Regions from separate parts of the Homo sapiens genome. Here region 2 is linked to region 1. The links are contacts of gene promoters, found by promoter capture Hi-C in human tissues and cell types (Jung and others, 2019). All regions are on one chromosome and are shown on one strand. Each heading gives the region's core, a stretch centred on a gene start or on the middle of the fragment in contact. The rest is flanking DNA. Distances are from core to core; before and after follow the strand shown. Region 1 holds the start of IQSEC1 (IQ motif and Sec7 domain ArfGEF 1). Region 2 overlaps NUP210 (nucleoporin 210).

What was found. The method cuts DNA at HindIII sites, captures the fragments that hold promoters and counts their contacts. A contact is called where the count stands out against the background at its distance.
Region 2: a fragment that was not itself captured here is called in contact with the fragment with the promoter of IQSEC1 in region 1 in 2 of the 25 tissues and cell types used here (dorsolateral prefrontal cortex and spleen).

The regions. Positions count from the first base shown.
Region 1 is chr3:13,072,069-13,078,225 of GRCh38, forward strand. It overlaps IQSEC1 (IQ motif and Sec7 domain ArfGEF 1), which reads right to left and starts at 1,361. Exons shown (of 14, transcript NM_001134382.3): 1 at 924-1,361. The coding sequence starts at 946. RefSeq lists silencers at 1,277-1,436, 1,557-1,736. The HindIII fragment of the contact is 23,458 bases long and covers 1-6,157 here.
Region 2 is chr3:13,316,392-13,319,245 of GRCh38, forward strand. It overlaps NUP210 (nucleoporin 210), which reads right to left. Exons shown (of 40, transcript NM_024923.4): 38 at 2,839-2,854; 39 at 2,681-2,764; 40 at 1-1,390. The coding sequence ends at 1,290. Among named protein-coding and RNA genes, the nearest start is that of NUP210, 100 kb to the right of the region's middle. The HindIII fragment of the contact is 8,541 bases long and covers 1-2,854 here.

The DNA of each region.
Region 1 (6,157 bases), core at 111-2,610:
GCTCCAGGCCTCCTTTTCCTAGCCTTGCGACTGAGCCCAGCTCAAGAGGACTCAGCCATGCTCTCTAACCTCCTAAGGTCTGAGGTCACTGCACAGCCCCAAATGAGTGGGTCCTGGGCAAATAGTTTAGGCAGGTGGAGACCTGACGCTGGGCCTCAACCCCCGCAGCCGAGGGTCCCAGAGGAGGGCAAAGGTTGCTCCTCCTAGAACAGCACAGTGCAGCGCCCAGAGAGCTGTGAGGGAAGCTGGCATTCGAACCCCACTGCCCCCTGGGAAGCCTGGCTAACCGAAGCGCAGGCTTTGGTTTCCATAAATACCCGGGCCCGTGATGTCACCGCCCCGTGCAGACTTTCACAGCCTCTGCTGCTGGCGTGAGGCCCAGCACACAGCCGCTCTGCTGCCAGCCCACAGAACACCTGGGCACACAGCTGGACACTGATGCCTCCGTGCTAGGGACGGTGGGCTGGACCTTCACCTGCCCTTGGAGGACGCAGCATCCTGGCCACTGCCTCAGCCTGCCTGCGACCTTCTATCAGGCATGGCTGAAGGGCTGGCCATGGGCGTGCTGGGCAGAGATTCTCTTCCTAAACAGGCTATGGGCTAAACCAAAGCCAAAACAGTAGGAGCCGGTCTGGGCACCCTGAATGTGGATCTGGGAGGGGGGATACCTGCTCTCACAGTTGGGAATTTCACAGCCTGCTGAAGACCTGCTGACTAATAGCCTTTTTCTCATCGTCATCACCAACAAACACCTCCGCTGCAGGGGCCGAGCGCCGGCATCCCTGCTGGGTGGCCAGCTCCCTCTGCAAGTCACCTGCACATCCACCTGCCCCTCCCCCAACGATGCCCCTCACTCCAGCTCCCAGCTCAGCCGGGCCCCTCTGGCCTCTGGCTTCAGGCAGAAACCTGCCACATATACTCACAAATAGCGTCTTCTGCAAGCCATCCTGTGTGAATCCGTTCTTCCCTGTTCTGGCTCCCTCTCCAGCGGGGAGGCTCAACGTGTTTCCAAGAGGAGCAGGCGGCTCAGGCAAGAAGTGGAGGGGAATAAAATTAAATCGCGGGGCGAGTCACATTCCCGGGGGTGGCGGGCTCCTCCAGGGAGGCTGGGGCGGGAGCGGGGGGCGGCGCCAGCAGCGGGCTGTGGAGGGCCCTGGCACGTAGCGCGCGCTCACACCGTGCCCAGGAGCGAGCGAGGACGTCGAGTAACCGTGGTCGCCAGGCTGGGCGGGGGCGTCCACCTCGCTGCTACCTGGGCCCACCTTGGGGTTTTTCCCTCCCGTCCATCCGGGGTGCGGGGCGCGGGGATGAGGAGGGGAGGGTCGAGAGAAGGCTGCCCCGGGTTTGCTCTCGCAGCATCCGGAGAAGGGGCGGGCGCGCCGGAGCCTCCCCCACCCCCCGCGCCCAAGGAGCAACGTAGTGCGGCCGCGCCGGACCAATCGCCGAGGCGCTGGTCGCCATGGCAACAGCAGCATCAGGCGCGGCCGCTCGGCTGCGCCCTCGCGGCAAAGTCACACACCCGGCGGGGCGCGGGGCGCCGGCCCCTTCCTGGCCCGCGCTGGAAACCTGGAAGTCTGTTGCTAAAATGCACGCGCCGCGCGGAGCCTACGATGACACTACTTTCCAAGGCGGCTTTTCTGCCTTCGGCACTGAGACACGCGAGCCGCGGAGCTCTCGGGGCTCTGGCCCTGGAGTGAGGCCGGCCGACTCCAAGGCTGTCTCTGCCACTGAAGGGCGATGAGACCTTGGCAAGCCGCGTCTCTCCTGGGAGTCTTGATTATGCTACTGTGAAAGGGATCATAACAGCTATACCACGGGGTTCCAGGAGGGCGCACCACGCCAGTAGCTGCACGGTGGATGGCAGAGCAGTCCTCGTTTGTGCCAGTCCTGTCCCAAAGGGGGCTGCACGTGGCTAGGGAGAATTTCTGGTCTAGCTATGGTGCCTCTTCCTCTCCCGAGGACCTTCCATGTGCCGGGCAAGTATCTGCCCTCATGATGTTTACAGTCTAAGGGGAAGCCAGGAAGTAAGTGTGCAGATATAGGATTGCACGTGGTGATAAGGATCAGGATGAAAAGAGAGCAGGAAGAGGGGAGGCAGGGACCCCAAGAGAGGCGGGAAGGAGGCTTCTGCCATCAGACGGGGTGGTCGGGAAGGCCCTCTGTGAGGCACGTGTGGCTGAGACTCGGATGACGCAAGAAGCAGGGGAGGAGCTGGCGTCAAGGCTCTGAGGCGGAAGGCAGCCTGGTGTATTTGACTGGCCCAGAGGAGGCCAGCGTGGTGCAGTGTGCGACAGGGAGGTGGAGGGGAGAAGCGCACATCCATCCTCGGCTCCCACACCCGCCTTTCCCACACAGATTTCTCTCTTCCTGTCTGATGTTCATCTGATCCTCTCTGCTTCCTCATCTGTAAACCAGGAATCCCAGACCTATCTCAGAGGCATGTAGATAATATTCTTCCGTGCACGGTAATCCTCAAGACAACCCCAATGAGGCCTAATACTATCATCCTACTTCACGGGGGAGCGCATTAAAGCCAGAGGTTCAGCAACTGGCCCAAGCCACATAGCTGGCGGGCAGTCTGGCTCCAGAGTCTTGGTTCTTGACTGCTTGAAAGCTGCCTCACTGGGAGGAATAAATGAGAGAGGGAGTAGTTGAGACTGGGAATCGGCTGGATGTGGATGGCAGCCCACAGGGCCATTTCCCTTCCTCTTTCCATTCTCTCCAGATTCACACTCACCGAATTTAGAAGGAGTGATGCTGCATCCTTGAGTTCCATTCCATCCTTTACAGGGGAGGAAATGAACCTCAGGGGGTGAGCGATTTGCCTAAAGTTGCACAGCAAAGAGTGGCAGAGGTGGGACTAGGACCCCAGTCTTCCAGCTCAGTGTCCTGGTAGGGAGCAGAGGTTGGAGCTGCGGCCTCAGGTGGCCAAGGTGAGGCATCGAACAGAACTGCATGACGCTTCCCGATCTGCCCTCTCCAGGTGAATCCATATGCATGACCAATCTTCCTGTAGCACGGACCTCCCTCCCTGAGTCATGTGAGGAATTCATATTTCTGTGGGTTAACATGTTGCAGAGCCCACCCCACCCCTCTCCTCACTGGAGTTTCAAAAGATTTTAATAACATCAAAATTCAGCCACTGCATCAGGAGGGCTCACTTTGTGTCAGGTCCAGTTGTTTCATGGTCTCAGTGAATTCTCAGAAGCGCCCTACGAAGTGAACATAATTACCACTCCTGCTTAGATGGGTTGCACCACATACGGGGGTCTCCCATCAAGGCAGCAGCAGAGCCCAGACTAACTCACAGCCTGGCTCGGGCTAGAGCAATGCCCCTCTCAGCCGCCTTGCTCAACTAGCGATTCTCTTCTCACTTCCATCTTCCAGAGGCGGAAACAGGCTCAGAGTGGTGAATTGGATGCCTTGAGTGTGGAGCACCCAGTGTCCCTTTCCTGGGCTTCCTCTTTTGCTCCCTGGGAGGCCCATGACATGCATCTGCACATCCGTTGCTTCTTCAGCACTTCTTCTTATAAACGTACTCTCCTTTTCCTTCCATGTTATGCTGTTATTTCAAAGCAGAGGAAATGGCAAGGACCCTGGCATTCAGATACAAATGCCAAGATTTTAGGCTTTTACAAAACATCATTTACAGGGCACGTGGGTAGTGCCTACAACCCACCTGCACTGGCGCGGTTTTGATTTCTGACATTCAATATCCAGCGCCGGACCAGGCACAGAGGAGGCTCCAAAAAGCGTGGAGCTGGGATTCCGACTCTGATCTCTGACTACGGAACCCACAAGTTCATCCCTTCAGGCAGTGAGAGGTCAGAGAGTCTCAGAAAAGGGGCGCGCCCACCTGTGCAGGCTGAGCTTCACCTACCTCATGACCCCAAGCCCTCGACATCCAATCTCAGGGCAGATTTGTCAGCCACACCTCCCAGATGCAAAGCCTGTGGTCGTGAGAGGGTCCTGATCACATAAGAAGTGGAGCTACAGAACTCTGGATGGAATTGTCCACTTTCCTCACTTTCGCAGTTGTAACCAGATGTCTGGAGTGGGAAGCAGGGGCAGCCAGCCTTGGGGTTGCTGCCCTGTGACCCTGGTTATATCACAGAATCATCCACCCACTCACCCACCTCTGCAGGCTGGAGACTAAGGCACAGTGGGAACCTAGCATTCAGACAGCGTTTTCATCCCCTGGAGTTTCTGTAAGTGCCCAAGTTCACCCCTGCCCTTGCCTCATCATTGTGGACTGTGGGAAGCCGCTTGGATCAGAAGGTGAGAGCAGCTGCCAAGGGGTAAGTCCAGAAACATCTCACATCCATCTCCCTTCCCTCAACGGGAAAATTTCCACCCTGCAGGCTGGCAGGAACATTCCTGCAGATCGGCTCACTCCTGCAACCTGCGGCCATCTGTCCCCAAGGTGGGAGGAACATGACAGCATTTGGGAAGAGGGAGGACGGAGAAGGTTGGAGCATGCAGTCCACAGATCTGACAGTCACAGAGCTCTTCAAGGCAGGGAGCCCCGAATCCCAGGGATTCAGGATCTTCATCCAGGGCTGGGCAGAAGTGAACCCCCCACCCCCGCTGCTCCGTTCCAACTGTGGAACTGCAAAGCCGTCAACACTCTGACTCTAAATCTCAGGACCACACAGTCTTCAAGTCTGGGGACTTTATTTTCTTTTAGCTGAAGCTTCACATTTTAAAGAAATGAAATCCTAACTGCACAAATGATAAGAAAATGTATTCTCTTTAAACAAAATAAAGCCCCCTTTACCTCCCACCCTCCTAAATCTTATTCCCCGTTCCAATCTCTGCAGAGGTGACCGCTGTCATCTGTTTGGAGTGGATCCTTCCAGAACTTTTTCTATGCATTTATCTACATATATATGCCTATAGAAAATAGGAAGTATTACATAGACCCTAAAAAAAATGGCATCATTTTACAAATTTCTTTCTTTCTTTTTTTTTTTTTTTAAAGACAAGGTCTCACTATGCTGCCCAGGCTGGAGTGCAGTGGCTTTCACGGGAGCAACCATAGCACACTACAGCCTCAAACTCCTGGGCTCAGCGATCTTCCTGCCTTAGCCTGGGACTATAGGCATGCACCACCAAACCCAGAATATTAAGAATTTTTTAATAAAAGATTTAAAATGTGCCAAAAGGCATAAAGATGAATACCGTGAACTCTGATATACCCCTGACCCACTACAAGAAACAGAACATGACGAATATGATGGAAGCCCAGGGTCACCACCTCTGTTAAATCCCCTCGCCAGCCCTGCCCTCCTCCCATCCCCATGGTGAATTCACTCTGTAGTGAATCTCCTGCATAGAGAGGTATCCACAAACCATATAAACACTTGTGCACGTTTTTAAACTTTACATAAGTAGGATCACATTGCATATCTTTTTCTGCAACTCTTTCCCCACTCGGCATTATGTCTGGAAGACTGAATCATGGAATCTCTAAACCACAGACTCTTCCATGCTGAGTTCCCAAATCACAGGCTTTTCTAATCATAGACATGGGCTCGGGCTCTGGTGCTGGGAGGACCTCGCTGGCAGGCTCGTGCAGGGCCCTCCTAACATCTCTGCCCAGCCCCACCCCTCACGTGCAGGTGGCTGACGGAGGGAGGAAGCAGCCGGAAGCAATTATCTCTGGAAATGTGTGTGGGCTTCTGGAAGCCTGGCAAACACCTCCCTCTGCAGCAAACCAAGTATCACTGAGGTGCCCTGTCCCCTGTCTTGGGGGAGAAGATCAGACCCTGGCCCTATAACAGTTGAGCAGCAGTCCTTGATATGCTCCTGAAATGGAGCACATCCACTGCTTCTCGATGCTATTTTGGAGTCCTGGCTGATGGAGATCTGAAAGCCACGAGGGCTGGCATCGGTCCCCACTTGCCGCCTTGCCAGGTTTGCTGCTGACTGTGCCAAGGACGGCCGTGGCCAATGGAGCCTGCTGGGGCCGCGGATGAGTGAGGGAGCTGTGGCCCTGCAGACACTCCCTGCAGGAGCTCACGCTGCACGGGGCCACGCTGGCTGGAGGAAGGGGGCGTGGGAGACAGATGCTGCTTGAGATGCTTCGGCTGCTGCAGGACTCAAGAGTCCTGCTCCCCTGGGGAGAGAACCAGTGAACACATGAGCAGAGGGCACC
Region 2 (2,854 bases), core at 1-2,500, 240 kb after region 1:
GGGAGCTTGTGCGGGATCCCGTCATCCTGGACTCTCCACACAGCGTCCACGCATGGATGGCCATGGGCATGAGTCTCTGGATCTCCCTGAGGGTAGCCCAGCCTCGGCCTGGAGCACAGGGGCCTGTGATCTGAGAATCTCAGATCCAGAATCAGGAGCTGGGAAGAGAGGACTTTTCCAAGGGTCTCCTCCCCCAGGCCCTGGGGAGTCCCTTCTGGATGGGCAGGCCCTGGGCTGGCGGCCGCCCTCCATCATTGGCCCAGGCCGGGCTCTAGGGCCTGCTGGGAAGCTGTCTGGGGCCCTGCGCCTGATGAGCTGCCATGAAAGTGGCCGCCTCTCACACTGGCAGGCGGTGGCTCAGATCTGCTGAGGTTCTGGAGTGGCACAGGAACAGGAGGAGCAAATGACACTGGGTCTTTGTGCTGAGGCAGGACACAGCGGCTTTCCGAAACACACACACAGAAAATATGACTCCTGCTGCCATCTCAAGGACATTTTCCTAAGGACAGTCCTGGTGTCCTGATGGAGTGAAAGGGATCACACGTGGGATGTCCCAGCAGGGCCTAAGCCAAGTCCATCAGATGTCTCAACGGCTTATGAAACAAAAACAGAGGACTGAAGTCTGTTCACAGTGGCCCATGGTTGGGCAGCAGCCCTGGGTGAGCTCCTGTGTTCTCCAGCCTCTCGCTCACCCAGGGCTTGGCTATCCTGGCCTCCAGGTGCTGGTTCCTGAGGCTTCCCTTGCGGCAGTGGCGCAGATACAGGGACACTCATGTCCCATTGCTCCTCAGAAGTCCTAGCAGCAGCCAGACTAGGGGCAAAGTAAGTTTTCACAGGGGGAAAAACCCCACCAAAAACCCCCTAAAGTAACTGGACAATCCTTTCCCTGAGACCACTACAGTAACATCACCCACAGACAACTTCTAAAGAGCACTTCTAACTGCTCAAAGTCTTGAGAAGGGAAAGATTTTAGCAAGGCTAGGAAAATAAAAATGCAACAGCACATTGTCCAGAAACCCTAGACAACCATGCAAAAAGGAATGAGCCAAAAAGTCTTAGCTTTGTAAGACTTGAAAGGAAAAAAACACACATTTAAAACTCCTACATAAAATGAGCTAATGGGCAGAGCCGAAACTACAGCTCTGTGTGAAGAGACGGCAGTGAAGCTGGCCTGGGGCCGGGGCACTCATCTGGAGGGGCTTGTTCCAGTGTGAATGCAGCAGGGATGTTCCATCTTGGGGGTGCACGAGGCTCGGCTGAGACCCATCCTCCGGGAACCTTCACGCGGCCTAGTGGGAGGCATAGGCTGGGCTCCACAGCCCTGAGGGAGGGCTGGCTTTGCGAGCAGGAGGCAATGCATTGGGAGATGTGGGTGATGAGGCAGCGAAATCTAGGGTGGGAAGAGAGACGATGTTAGCAGCAGAGCCAGGGAAAGCGGCGCACTCTTCAGTTACAGCCAGCATTCAGCAGGCGCCTGCCTCACCCAGGACACTCTCACAGTGATGCCCCGAGGCCTCCCCGGCCAGCAGAGGGAAGTCCACGGGCACCTGCTGAGCTGGCCTCATTCACACAGAGAGGCCTGGGATGCCACCCTAACACCCAGGAGCGCAGAGCCTTCCGGGGAGAACGTGTCTCAAGTTTCAGGACCACAGCAGCATCTGTCCAGGGGGCATGAGGCAGGGAGGCCCCGTGCATCTGAATGCAATGCAGCCTCGGGCAAGAGCGCCACAGGAACAAAGACCCCGAGGGGAGCAGCGATTCTGCAGTGCTCCGGAGACCTTGCAGAGATCCAGGTGTGGCTCCCAAAACCCAGGGAGGAGCACGCTGAGAGAGGCAGCTAGAAAGGGCAGGCACCTGCTGCCAGAGCAGCTGCAGAAGGCAGCAGAGCCGCGAGGAGGCCGAGCACCCGTGGCCTCCCCTGGGTGCCGCTTTGCAGGTAGAGAAGTCGTCAGGCAGAAGACAAGGGCGTGTGGGCTCTCCTTACCCAGGAAAGTGCTTCTACCCACACAACTGGGTCTTCTTTCAAAAAAATTCAGGGACCCCCCTGAAGCCGGTCCATGGGCCCCCATGTCAGCAGACACGAGCTCGAGGACTCTTTGTGTAGGGGAGAGAACCCTCAAATGGGAATCAGGAGACATTAAAGGGCCTTCACGTACAGCAGTACAGGCTGGGCACTGCATTGTTTGAGAGAGAAACTACATTCACACAGTGAGGTGCTCCCTGGAGCTGTGCAGGGTCACCAGGGCTTCGGGGTCACCAGAGAGACAGTTAGACCATTGAAATAAATGACTTTGCCCATTCTTCTGGGAAATTTCTCATCAGAACTACCCAGAATCCCCATCTGTGAGTCAGCTCGTCCAACCCCAGCTTAGAGCCTTCTGAGGCAGCCTCAGCAATTGGGCATCCAGTCCTAGCATGCACTCCTGCCTAGACAGAGCTCCTTGCTGCCCATACCTCCACCCAGCATGGCTCTACCTGGGGAAAGCTCTTGCTGAACCAGGACTGGCAGCCCCTCTGCCCCGACCCTCCTGGCTCCCACATCTGTCCTCTGGGCCTCAGGCTCCTTTGGCCCAGGCAAGGGCCTGTTGAGACTTAGGGTTCAGGAGCCTCGACCCCTCCCCCAGGGCTCTTCTCTTTCTCAGCAGCTCTGCCTGGTTGTGCCTGCAGGGGGGCTACTCACAGTGGGGGCTGTGTCCAGGGCTGGCTCGAGGCGTGAGGGCTGCAGGCACAGCAAGATCCCGGGGCGTGCAGACAGTGTGGTAGGCTGCAAGAGCACAGGGTTGGTTAGAGCAGGTCGGGGCAGGGGAACAGACCCAGAGATACAGGCAGCCTCCTCACCTATGATCATGACCGC